Regions from separate parts of the Homo sapiens genome. Here region 1 is linked to region 2. Evidence: promoter capture Hi-C in human tissues and cell types (Jung and others, 2019). All regions are on one chromosome and are shown on one strand. The core of a region is centred on a gene start or on the middle of the fragment in contact, and the rest is flanking DNA. Distances in the headings are between cores, read along the strand shown. Region 1 overlaps HPCAL1 (hippocalcin like 1). Region 2 holds the start of CYS1 (cystin 1).

What was found. The method cuts DNA at HindIII sites, captures the fragments that hold promoters and counts their contacts. A contact is called where the count stands out against the background at its distance.
Region 1: a fragment that was not itself captured here is called in contact with the fragment with the promoter of CYS1 in region 2 in 2 of the 25 tissues and cell types used here (adrenal gland and pancreas).

The regions. Positions count from the first base shown.
Region 1 is chr2:10,344,540-10,350,190 of GRCh38, reverse strand. The region is part of intron 1 of HPCAL1 (hippocalcin like 1); the gene reads right to left. Among named protein-coding and RNA genes, the nearest start is that of HPCAL1, 44 kb to the right of the region's middle. RefSeq lists an enhancer at 5,546-5,651. The HindIII fragment of the contact is 6,918 bases long and covers 690-5,651 here.
Region 2 is chr2:10,078,892-10,084,993 of GRCh38, reverse strand. CYS1 (cystin 1) reads left to right here and starts at 4,583. Exons shown (of 3, transcript NM_001037160.3): 1 at 4,583-5,088. The coding sequence starts at 4,771. RefSeq lists an enhancer at 1,965-2,024 and silencers at 4,269-4,508, 4,679-4,738, 4,799-5,038, 5,109-5,448. The HindIII fragment of the contact is 24,294 bases long and covers 1,205-6,102 here.

The sequences.
Region 1 (5,651 bases), core at 2,899-5,398, 270 kb before region 2:
GCACTCTGAGCCCACCAAGACTCAGTTACGTTTGTTTCCAAACCTGCTTATACCAGTAGTACTTATGTAATTACCAAAGTTAATTAAATTTTATGCAAACCCTCAGAAGAGGAATTAAAAGGAGTTGGTTTTATGAAACAGAGTTGAATGTTTGGGGGAAGATGGCTGTTCAATTAGGCATGAACAAAATAACTGTATAATATCAGTGGTATATGAAATCGGCAAGGATTTGGTGCTAGTTCCTACATTACTTGACAGAAACAGAAACTGAGAATCTCAGAAAATGCATTAACAGTGTGGATAGTGCAAAAAAGACATATCAGGACAGAAGCCAGTGGACCCATAATCCAAGAGAGGTCTTGGCCCTGTATCAAGAGATGGGGAATAAATGCATTTTTATATGAAAATGAAACGTTTTATGTCAAAACGAAATGCTCAATATGTCTATATCTTTTTTTTTTTTTTTTTTTTTTTTTTTTTTTTTTTTTGAGACAGAGTCTTGCTCTGTCACCCAGGCTGGAGTGCAGTGGCATGATCTCGGATCACTGCAAGCTCCGCCTCCCAGGTTCACGCCATTCTCCTGCCTCAGCCTCCTGAGTAGCTGGGACTACAGGTGCCCGCCACCACGCCCAGCTAATTTTTTGTATATTTAGTAGAGACAGGGTTTCACCGTGTTAGCCAGGATGGTCTCTCCTGACCTCATGATCCACCCGCCTCAGCCTCCCAAAGTGCTGCGATTACAGGTGTGAGCCACCGTGCCCGGCGTCTATATCATTTTTATGATCCCCTCTTTAATAATCTTTTTCAATTACCCAACTCCCTGCCAGGTCAGATAATACTGGAAAAGCAGGCTTCTTACAAGCACTCAAATAGAAGAGTGGCTACCTGGGCAGGGGTGACAAAATATTATTTTTTGTCTCCTTCTTACCTCTTAGTATGTTTGAGACGTTCTAATAAGTATGGATGACTTTTATGGTAGAGAACAAGTATGTAAAATTTATTTTTGAAGATTCAGATTCCATTACCGCCTGTTAATAAAGGGAAGAAATTTGGAAACGCTGCACTGCCGTGGCCAGCATTGTTAACTGCAGCCAAGAACATGCCCCTGTGCCACAAAGATAAACAAGCAGGAAATGTGCAAAAGGAACAACATAAAACAATAAGACCATCAGGCTCAAATGCGTGGCTACTTTAATTGAAAGCTAGTAAAACGCTGAAATAGATGCTGAATGTGATTGAATTCAGACAGGCCCTTTCCTGAGCTCTTTGGTTAAAGCTACTGGGCACCGTGAGAGGCAGACATACTTTTGGAAAGCCAGGCTGCTGGACTAAATGGGTTCAACGAACATCATACCAGACAAATCTGGATTTCCCAGGAGAAGGCCAGAATCCAGAGTTTTGTTTTGTTTCTTGAGACAGAGTCTCACTCTGTCGCTCAGGCTGGAGTGCAGTGGTGGGATCAGAGCCCATTGCAGCCTCAGACTCCTGGGCTCAAGTGATCTTCCCACCTCAGCCTCCCAAGTAGCTGGGACTGTAGATGCACATCACCCTGCCTGGCTAATTTATATATATATATATTTTTTTTTTTTTGTAGAGACAGGATCTTGCTATGCTACCCAGGCTGGGCAAATACTCCTGGGCTCAAGCGATCCCCCCACCTTGGTCTCCCAAAGCACTGGGATTACAGGTGTGAACCACCACAGCTGGCCCAGAGTTTTTTCTGTTGTTGTTTTTTGTTTTTTGAGATGGAGTCTTGCTCTGTCGTGCAGGCTGGAGTGCAGTGGAGCGATCTCGGCTCACTGCAACCTCCGCCTCTTGAGTTCAAGTGATTCTCCTGCCTCAGCCTCCCGAGTAGCTGGGATTACAGGTGTGTACCACCATGCCCAGCTAATTTTTGTATTTTTAGTAGAGATGAGGTTTCACCATGTTGGCAGGCTGGTCTTGAACTCCTGATCTTAGGTGAACTGCCCACCTTGGCCTCCCAAAGTGCTGGGATTACAGGCATGAGCCACTGTGCCCGGGCTGGCCCCTAGTATTTTTAAAGAAACACAATGTCACTGCTCTGATGTGTACAAAATAAGTGATTAAGAGGTCCGTCTCACTGACCCTAAATCCCTGCCCCCTTGAACTTGATCTTGCTTTTATATCCCCACCATGCTAGGCTTACAGTAGGTATCTAATCACTGTGTTAAAGCATGAACAAATGCAAGCTTAAGAGTGACTTATGAAGATACCAATCTTTCTCCTGTAAACCAGGGCTTCTGAAATGGTCCTTCTACAGCACTCCTCCCCTCCCCCATTCCCACGCTGCATTTTCTTATGTTTGAGACACAGTTTGCTAAACCCAACCTTGTCTGAATTAATGAGGACACAGAAGTGAAGGGTTTGGGGAGCTAAACATTAAACCGATTTGGCCCATACTCCGTGCCAGGCTTCATACTGGATCCCCGTGAAACACAGGAAGCCTCAGAAAATGCCCAACCCCGCCCCGCAGACACAGTGCCATGGGAAAGGCTGCTGCTGGAGTGTTTAAACCTGTGAGGAACAGCACCAGAAAGGCCCAGACAGCCAGAGCGGGGCCTGAAGGAAAAGCAGGGTGGGTGCTGAGGACAGACACCCACAGATCAGCTCCTGGGACCCCAGGGTGGCAGGAGGCACTTCCAAAGGAGAAGTAGTGGGTGTGGCCATTTTAAACCTCTTTCCTCCTCCCCACGCCCACCTTTGCCCCACCGTGGTCCACATCTGGGGCTGGAACTTAGGCGAAGTGACCATTATCAGGCGCTGGGGGGCACATTTTATACCATCAGGAAATTCCTGTGAGCCAAGTCAGTCCCAGCACATGGGCCTTCCCTGAAGGCCCTGCTCCCCATGAGACTCTGAGACAGGGCTCTGCCTGGTGTGGATGACAGGCTCAGAAAAGGGTGGGCCGGGGGCTGGGTGACCAAGCCAACGACGGAAGGAGCAAGTTGTTCTAAAGAACAGGCGCCCACCGTATGGGTCACGGATGCCAGGGAGGCAGACACTCCCTCTCACTGAGGCCGGCCTGTGTGTCAGGCTGAACTCCAGCACCTGCGGGGGGCGGGGGCGGTGCGGGGCTCTCTAGAGACTTCTGAAAGTGAATCCCAGTAATGTCAAACTCATCTATGAGCACTCTGCTCCTCTGAGGATGAAAACAGTTCGCACCACTCTGCAAACAAATATAAATCCCTTAGAAACTAATCTGGGTGGGTGGGTGGGGTGGTGGGGATGACAAGAGGAACAAATGTTTAAAATCTAACATCCTCCAGGGTGGTCCTGACCCCAGTTAGAAGGAGAGAGAAGGAAGAGGGTGGGGGGAGGGAGCCAGGGCCTGTCTGTGCTGGGGAGGGAGCAGTGGAGGAGCACAAAGACATGGAGAAGGAAGGGGAGGAAGGGGAGAGAAGTGAGAAGCTCTCACAGTCTCGTTTTTGTACTATCATGGTGAAAACACAGTACACTTCATTCTGTTTGATGATGCCAACGCCTGCTACTGGAAAACACTCTCCTTGCACATCATATCCATAAATAAATGCCAGTCCCGGGTCTGTGGGTCTCAGCCTGGTAGACCGGTTATGTCAACTGGACAGTGCTTTTAATGGACCATTTATAGCCTGACTGGCTCACAACAAAAATGCCTGCACGGAGACCTAGAGGGTTAAACATCTCTTTAAGACAGAACTGCCTCCCAATTGAAAGAGGAAAAAAGCCACAGAGGGGACTGGGGCCAGGCAGACAAAGTTAACATTTGAGGATGAGGGAGCACCTCCCCCAAGACTCCACAGCCAAGCCCTGAATGAGGCACGTGGGCTGTGATGGGGTCAGTCCCATTCCATCCCCTCCCAATTCTGGCATGAGGGCTTCTCCCACCATATCCCCAGAGCCTCGAGACAGAATACCAGGAGGCTCCCCATGGCCCCCACAACATCAGCAGTCACTGCTGCTCCCCAACTTTCTCCCCGTCACCCCCCCTCAAAGAAGGACATGAGTGCAGCTGTGCTAGTGTCCTACTGGGAGGCCACCAGCCCCTGATGGACCAAGGGGGGTCTGAGGACCCCAAGGCATTGCACATAAGTGTTTGCATGCATACACACACACACACAGCCTGGCTCTCTCACACATACACAGACACACACACCCCCAGGGCACACACTCAGACACACCCACACACTCACACTTCCACTTATTCCCACAATTGTTCTTCCTGGTTTGGATCAACAGACCATCTGTGTGCTTGTGTGACTTAGGAAATCTTCCAAAATACGGCAAAAGTTCGCAGTCCTTGCCCCTTTTGTGGTGGGGGAGGGGCGTCATAAATAGTTTTCTAGTTTCTTTATATTTTCTATTTTACAGTGAACATGCATGTATCACTTTTATATTCAGAAAAAGTTAAAACACAAAATTTTTAAAAGTTTTTCTGGATGGGTGCAGTGGCTTATGCCTATAATCCTAGCACTTTGGGAGGCTGAAGTGAGAGGATCGCTTAAGCCCAAGAGTTCGAGACCAGCCCAGGCAGCATAGCAAGACCCTGTCTCTACAAAAAATACAAAAATTAGCTGGGTGTGGTGGCTCACACCTGTAGTCCCAGCTTCTTGGGAGGCTGAGGTGGGAGAATCGCTTGGGCCTGGGAAGTCAAGGTTGCAGTAGGCCAAGATTGTGCCACCACTCCAGCCTGGGTGACAGCAAGACCCTGTCTCAAAAAAAAAAAAAAGTTTTTCTAGGACAAATAATAAATAGTACCACAGTAGGTCACATTCATCTCATCTTGACCCACACAACAGCACTGTGAAGTAGTGCTTCCATTTTACAAATGAAGAAACCCAGGATAAGGGAACTTGAAAGCCGCCCAAGGTCACCCAGCTAGCAAGTGGCAAAAACGCAGAGTACAGTATTATCACTCCTGGGAAAAAGGTTCCTCTAGTCTGTCCCAAAGACGGAGAGAGAGACACACACAGAGAGACAGAAAGAAAGAGACAGACAGACAGGCAGGCACAGAGATAGAGAGATTGAAACAGAGAGAGCAAGACAGACAGAAACAGAGACAGACACATACAGAGACAGAGACAGACACACAGAGAGAGGCAGAAAGAGACTGCAAGACAGGCACAGAGAGAGACAGAAAGAGAGAGAGAGAGAAACAGACACATAGAGAGAGGCAGAAAGAGACTGAAAGGCACAGAGAGAGAGACACACAGAAAAAGAGAGAGAGATGGACACATAGAGAGAGGCAGAAAGAGACTGAAAGGCACAGAGAGAGAGACACACAGAGAGAAAGAGAAACGGACACATAGAGAGAGGCAGAAAGAGACTGAAAGGCACAGAGAGAGACACACACAGAAAGAGAGAGACAGAGACAGACACAGAGAGAGAAGCAGAAAGAGACAGAAAGTCAGGCACAGAGAGAGACACACACAGAAAGAGGGAGAGAGAAACAGACACATAGAGACAGACAGACAGACACAGAGAAAGAGACAGAGACAGAGCAAGTCCTGGGAGGAAGGGAAGGGGGAGCAGAGTACTGTGGAGTGTGGGACGCCCGTCTTACTCATTTGATTATAAAATATTTCTGAGCTGCCAGATGGTATAATAGTGGCTGCAGATGCCCCGATAGCTTTTCTTCATTTCTTTGCACAGGG
Region 2 (6,102 bases), core at 3,334-5,833:
CCACCCCCCGCCCCCCGGTCTAAATTCCTAGCCGGAGTAAAAATCCAATGGGAAAAGAGTCTTATACACATGGCAGCGGAGTGAAACCACATCAGCTACCTGGTCATTTTTTTTTCTTAAATATAAGCAGGAGTCAGTGGGGGATGATGCCCTTGTCCCATGTAAAGATCTTAATCGCTCCTTAGGTCCGATGCCCACTTCTCACTCCCATCTCCTTTTATACCCGCTGACTGTGTCCCGGAGTCTCATCTGTCAGTCCATTGACCCCGTTTCCTCTCCAGCGTCTGTCATCATGGCATAGACTGCAATTGCTCAGCCTGTGTCATCTGGCAGCTCTCTACTGTCAGTTTTCCATCTTTCAGAAATGCGTTGAAACCTCTCCTTTGTGATTTCCCTCCTTCTTACAACTCCTCCTCTATCCCTTTTTCTTTTATCTTAATTCCAGCAAAGTCGCAAGTACCAAGAGAAGGCAACTCTGCACCCGGTCTGCTGTTTTGAGCCAGAAGCCATGAGATGCCTCTAAACGAGAACTGCTCTAGTCATGGAAAGTATGCATCGTAAATTCCAGTGCTAAACCTTTTGTTTAGATGGGGTACAAGTCATTGTCATTTTACTGTCAGAATTTTTTACAGTGTTATAGAACGCACCAAATCAGCCATGACCTGGACCTGCCAACCCTAAGGACCTCATGTATCTTATTTCTGAGTAAATATTGAAAAAAGTTCTGTAACTCATTAATTGTCCTTAATGAATAATGGTGATTCACCCTTATATTTTGTTTTCCCCTCTTGATGCCGAAACCATGAAACCAAATACAAAAGCTTGGACACTTTGGTAAAAGACAATAGCAATTATGTGGGCTGCTGCTGTCCAAACATATCAGCATTCGTTAATAGCACTGTGGCTCTCTCAAGTTACCGATTAAGCATTAAAAATAGAAACATGGCTTGCTTATGTTTCAAATGCCGTCTCATTTATCACCCAAATGCAAATATTATCTGTCTGCATATTCATAAGAACCAGCACCTGCACAACACATCTTTCTTACGTAACGGCTTGGGAGTGCCATGATTGGTGGGAAACTGCAGGATATCTGAGCAGGGAGAGTAGATCTGCGAGTCCTGAAGCAGGGGCCCTGGAGTGGGGTTTTGAAAGGTGGGTTGGTTTGGCAGGCTATTGTAATGACTGGTCCATGAGTCGTGGTGGGAGGAACTGGCTTCATCTGCAGTAGATGCCTGGCTACTCCTGAAACCAAGGAAAACATCGTTCGGGCGCCCGAGTCCTTCCGAAAAGTATCACCAACTGTAGTCCTCTTCCAGGGTTTAATTTGTTTAAGGAAAGGAAGTTCTATTTTCCCAGAGTTAAGCAGAGAGTTCCCAAACTGGGCTTCACCTTCCACCCACCATCACCAGCACCCACGAGCACTATCACCGCATAAAAGAATCCTTCAGCTGCAGGTGTGACTGCCAGATATTTTCTTAAGAAGGATTACACCCCATTTCAGTTCTCCAATATTCCTGAGACGTTGCTAACTCTTTCGGACAAAAATTCTAGAGACGATCTTAGGGACATTAGTCATGCGGAAAGCTTTTAGGTTGTTTGCTTATTATGGGAAGCTTCTAATAAAATCAATCTGAGTTTTCAGCATATTTGATGGAAGCCAGGTCTACAAATGTAGCAGATTTTAAAATGTTCTCTCAAAGTGGAAAGAATGCTGGCTCTGGCATTCCTCCCGCTGAAGCGGAGCTAATGACAAGTTTTGGGAAACAGTGTTGGAATCAAGAGTGGCCAGAAAAATTGGTTGCCCTGGGAGGTGAACACAGGGAGCTGTGGATGTATTTAAACATGAGTCACATGACTAGCTTCTATTTAGGCAGAAGCAAAACATGTTTTCCTTTAAATCATTAAACTGAGTGAACTCAAGAAAAATCTCGTTTGCCTCTAAGTGTTGTTGTTCTTTGGGGTTTAAAGAGTTTCAAGATGAGATTTGTTTTCTTAAAAACTTATATCAATAGCTTCCAAACGAGACACATCTGTAGACTTAGCGCACCCAAATGACATCTGTGTTTGGCCCCACATCCTACACCTGGATGGTTAAGATGGCACATCAAAAAAAAGGGGGGGAGAGGCCAGGCACGGTAGCTTACGCCTGTAATCCCAGCACTTAGGGAGGCCAAGGCAGGTGGATTACCTGAGGTCAGGAGTTCAAAACCAGCCTGGCGAACATGGTGAAACCCTGTCTCTACTAAAAATACAAAAATTAGCCGGATGTGGTGGTGCGTGCCTGTAATCCCAGCTGCTCAGGAGCCTGAAGCAGAAGAATCACTTGAACCCGGGAGGCGGAGGTTGCAGTGAGCAGAGATCCGGCCACTGCACTACAGCCTGTGCAACAGAGCGAGACTCCGTCTCAAAAAAAAGGCAGGGGGGATCATAAATACTTCCCTTTAAAAAATTTTTTTTCTTTTCTTTTTGCTTTTTCTTTATTGTTTGTTGTTGTTGTTGTTTGTTTTGTTTTTTTTTTTTTTTGAGACGGAGTCTCTTTGGTTGCCCAGGCTGGAGTACAGTGGTGCGATCTCGGCTCACTGCAACCTCCGCCTAACGGGTTCAAGTGACTCCTGCCTCAGGCTCCCGAGCAGCTAGGACTACAGGTGCCCTTCACCATGCCCGGCTAATTTTTGTATTTGTAGTAGAGACAGGGTTTCATCCTATTGGCCAGGCTGGTCTCGAACTCCTGACCTGAAGTGATCCGCTCGCATCAGCCTCCTAAAGTGCTGGGATTACAGCCTCATTTTTTTTCTCTTCTTTTTCTTTTCCCTCTCTGTCTCACCTCTCTTCTCTCTCTCTTTTCTTTTCTTTCTTTCTTTTTTTTTTTTTGAGACAGAGTCCAGCTCTGTTGCCCAGGCTGGAGTGCAGTGGCGTGATCTCGGCTCACTGCAACCTCCACCTCCTGGGTTCAAGTGAGCATGCCCAGCTAATTTTTGTATTTTTAGTAGAGACAGTTTCACCATGTTGGCCAGGCTGGTCTCAAACTCCTCACCTAAAGTGATCTGCTCGCCTCAACCTCTGAAAGTGTTGGGATTACAGGCATGAGCCACCACGTCCAGCTAGATTATAAATACTTTCTTGTTCTTTTTTTTTTTTTTTTTTTTGAGACGAGCCTCACTCTGTCGCCCAGGCTGGAGTGCAGTGGCGCGATCTCGGCTCACTGCAACCTCCACCTCCCGGGTTCACGCCATTCTCCTGCCTCAGTCTCCTGAGTAGCTGGGACTACAGGCGCCCGCCACCACGCCCGGCTAATTTTTTGTATTTTTAGTAGAGACGGTGTTTCACCGTGTTAGCCAGGATGGTCTCGGTCTCTTGACCTCGTGATCCACCTGCCTCGGCTTCCCAAAGTGCTGGGATTACGGGCGTGAGCCACCGCGCCCGGCCTCTTGTTCTCTCTTAATAATAAAAATAAATGGATGTGAATCTGAGTCCCATTTTTATTCCATTTTCTTAGGCATATGTTTTTTAATGTCTACTCCTGAAGTGATAAAATAGTAGAATTTCAAGTCTGTGGTTGGGAAAGTTTAGCCGAAATTCCATTTTCACAATTATTCTGGAATCCAATCAATCAGGATAAAAGTTAATGTCAAGTCAAGATAGGTGAGTTAAACCCAGGACTTTTGAATTGCCCTGTCTTGGAAAGGCTGGAATTTAAAGTTGCAGGAGGTGGGCAAGGGAAGGAAGTAATCACATTTAAGTAAAACACAGAACCAACCAACAGGAAGGCTCGCTGGGTTTGAATTCGGCAGCTTTGGAGTGTTTTCTAGTCTGGGTTGTGGTTAGTTCACTTAAAAAGAAAAGCGGTTAAGGGAAAAAAAAAAAAAATCCGAGACCAAAAGCTAGACTTATGACCACCACCTAGGTATTTCCTTTTGCTTCTTTCCTGTGGCGGGGGGAGGGCGAGGTGGGGGTTGCTTTGCCTTTCTCCTTCATTTTCAAAGTTTTTCTTTCCCAAAAGTAGTGACTATTTGGAGGTTTTGATGAGGCTCAACCTTCACACATCCAGTCTCCGCTGGGGCAACAGAGGGAAGGAGAAGGCCGGAGGGGGCTGTTGGTGCCCGGAGGATCGCCCCTTCCCTCCCGGGGCGTCTCAGGCCTGGCGGACACTGAAAGGTCGGGGCGCACTGACGGCCGGACCTCGCGAACGCAGCGCGCGCAGCCCTCAGGGTCTTTCCCCCGCCCACCCCGCGCATCGCTAGGGGGCTCAGGCTTTGGGAAGTCCCCCCAAGCTCCCGCGGCCTCCCACGGGCCCGGCGAGCGTCGTCTGGGGAGCGTTTCCATAAATGAACAAACTCAGCCGGGCCCCCCGCAGGGTTCAGCAATTCCAGAAGGCCGGGACAGGGCTGACCCGACGGCGGGGAGCGAGGGGACCCGTGGGCGGGAGTGGGGGGACTGTAGGGGGAGACCCGGGAGGGGAGGCCGCGCCCGCACCCGGTGCTCCTCGCCGGGGTCTCGGGCCCGCCCCTCCCTAGGGCCGGTGTGCGCCCCCTCGGGACGCCTATGCAGCCCTGCCTCGCCCGCCCCTCCCCAGGCTCCGGCTCGCACCCCCGTCCTCCGGCCGCGACCCCCGCCCGGGAACCCTAGCCCCTGGCCGCGGTCGCTTCCCGGACCTCGCCCCGCGCCTCCCCCTGCAGCCCGCCCCGGCCGCACCCCCTAGCGTCCCCGCCCCCGGCCGCGCCCCCTCATGGGGGCCCCCTCGGCGGTCCGGGAGGCGGCGGGCGCGCCATGGGCAGCGGCAGCAGCCGGAGCAGCCGGACTCTGAGGCGGCGGCGCAGCCCCGAGAGCCTCCCCGCGGGGCCCGGAGCGGCAGCCCTGGAGGGCGGGACCCGCCGGCGGGTGCCGGTGGCGGCGGCCGAGGTCCCGGGGGCAGCCGCGGAGGAGGCGCCCGGCCGCGACCCCAGCCCCGTGGCGCCCCCCGACGGCAGGGACGAGACGCTGCGCCTGCTGGACGAGCTGCTGGCCGAGTCGGCGGCCTGGGGCCCCCCGGAGCCCGCCCCGCGCCGCCCAGCCCGGCTCCGACCCACCGCGGTCGCGGGGAGCGCGGTGAGTGTGGGAGCCGCAGGGCCTCGGGGGACGGCGGGGACCCCACTCACCGGCCGCGCGTCCCCGCCCCAGCCCTGGGCGCCGGTCGCGCTGCGCCCCCTTCCAGCCTCCGACTTGCGTGCTCCCCGCTGCCCCGGCCTCCCCGCCCCTGGGCCCCCAGGTTTCCTCCCTCTCTGCCCCGTCTCCGGGTCTGTGTCCAGGCGTGGGGGCGATCGCGCTGGGAGCGGCCGAGGAAGGACACCCCTAGGCGGAGCGCGCCGGGCTCCCGGCTCCCCTCGGGCCCGCGGCCCCGCCTGGCCTTCCCGGGCCGCCCTGGAGCGGGGCGCCGGCGGTGGTGGCACGGCAGCCAGACGGTGGCTCAGAAGCGCCCTGCCGCGCCCACCGGTCCAGATCCTTGCCTTGCTGGGCAGGCAATTCTCATGTTACTGATATTTTTAGGATGCTGCGGAATCTCTTTTGCGCTTCCTATTCTCTCTCCCTGAATACTCGTAATAACAGTCCTGCTGTTCTAAAAAAACAATAAAACAAGCACTCTGGTTTGGCAACCGTCTTCGCTCCAGCAGAGCTGAATGAACAAGATCTTTAACATCCGCTCCCGGGCTCGGGGAGGATGCCAAGGGCCTCGTCCTCCTCCCTGAGGCCCGGGAGGCTTTGCTTAGCAGCCGCTGGGAGCCGAGGAAGATGCCTTCCTGGGTGGCTACCGCACCAAGGAATCCTGAAAAGGCCCCAGGGAGGGTGGGGGAGAGGGACAGCCCCAGGCGACAGTGCACAGAGCTCTCTCCCTCTGGCCCTGGTTCCCTGCTCCTCTCCCTTACGGTCTTTAAAGAGGAAAAGCGAGCTGCAGTGAGTAGGGCTGAATTATATAACAAGATTCCTTTAATACCACATCAGCCTGCAGTTATATAACACTGCCTGGACAAATAGCTGAGAAATTTGGGAGGAATTCACACATAGCAAGGAGGCAGTTAATTTTAGTGTTCATTTTCAAGTGCTTTGGAAACTCGGAGGTGAAAA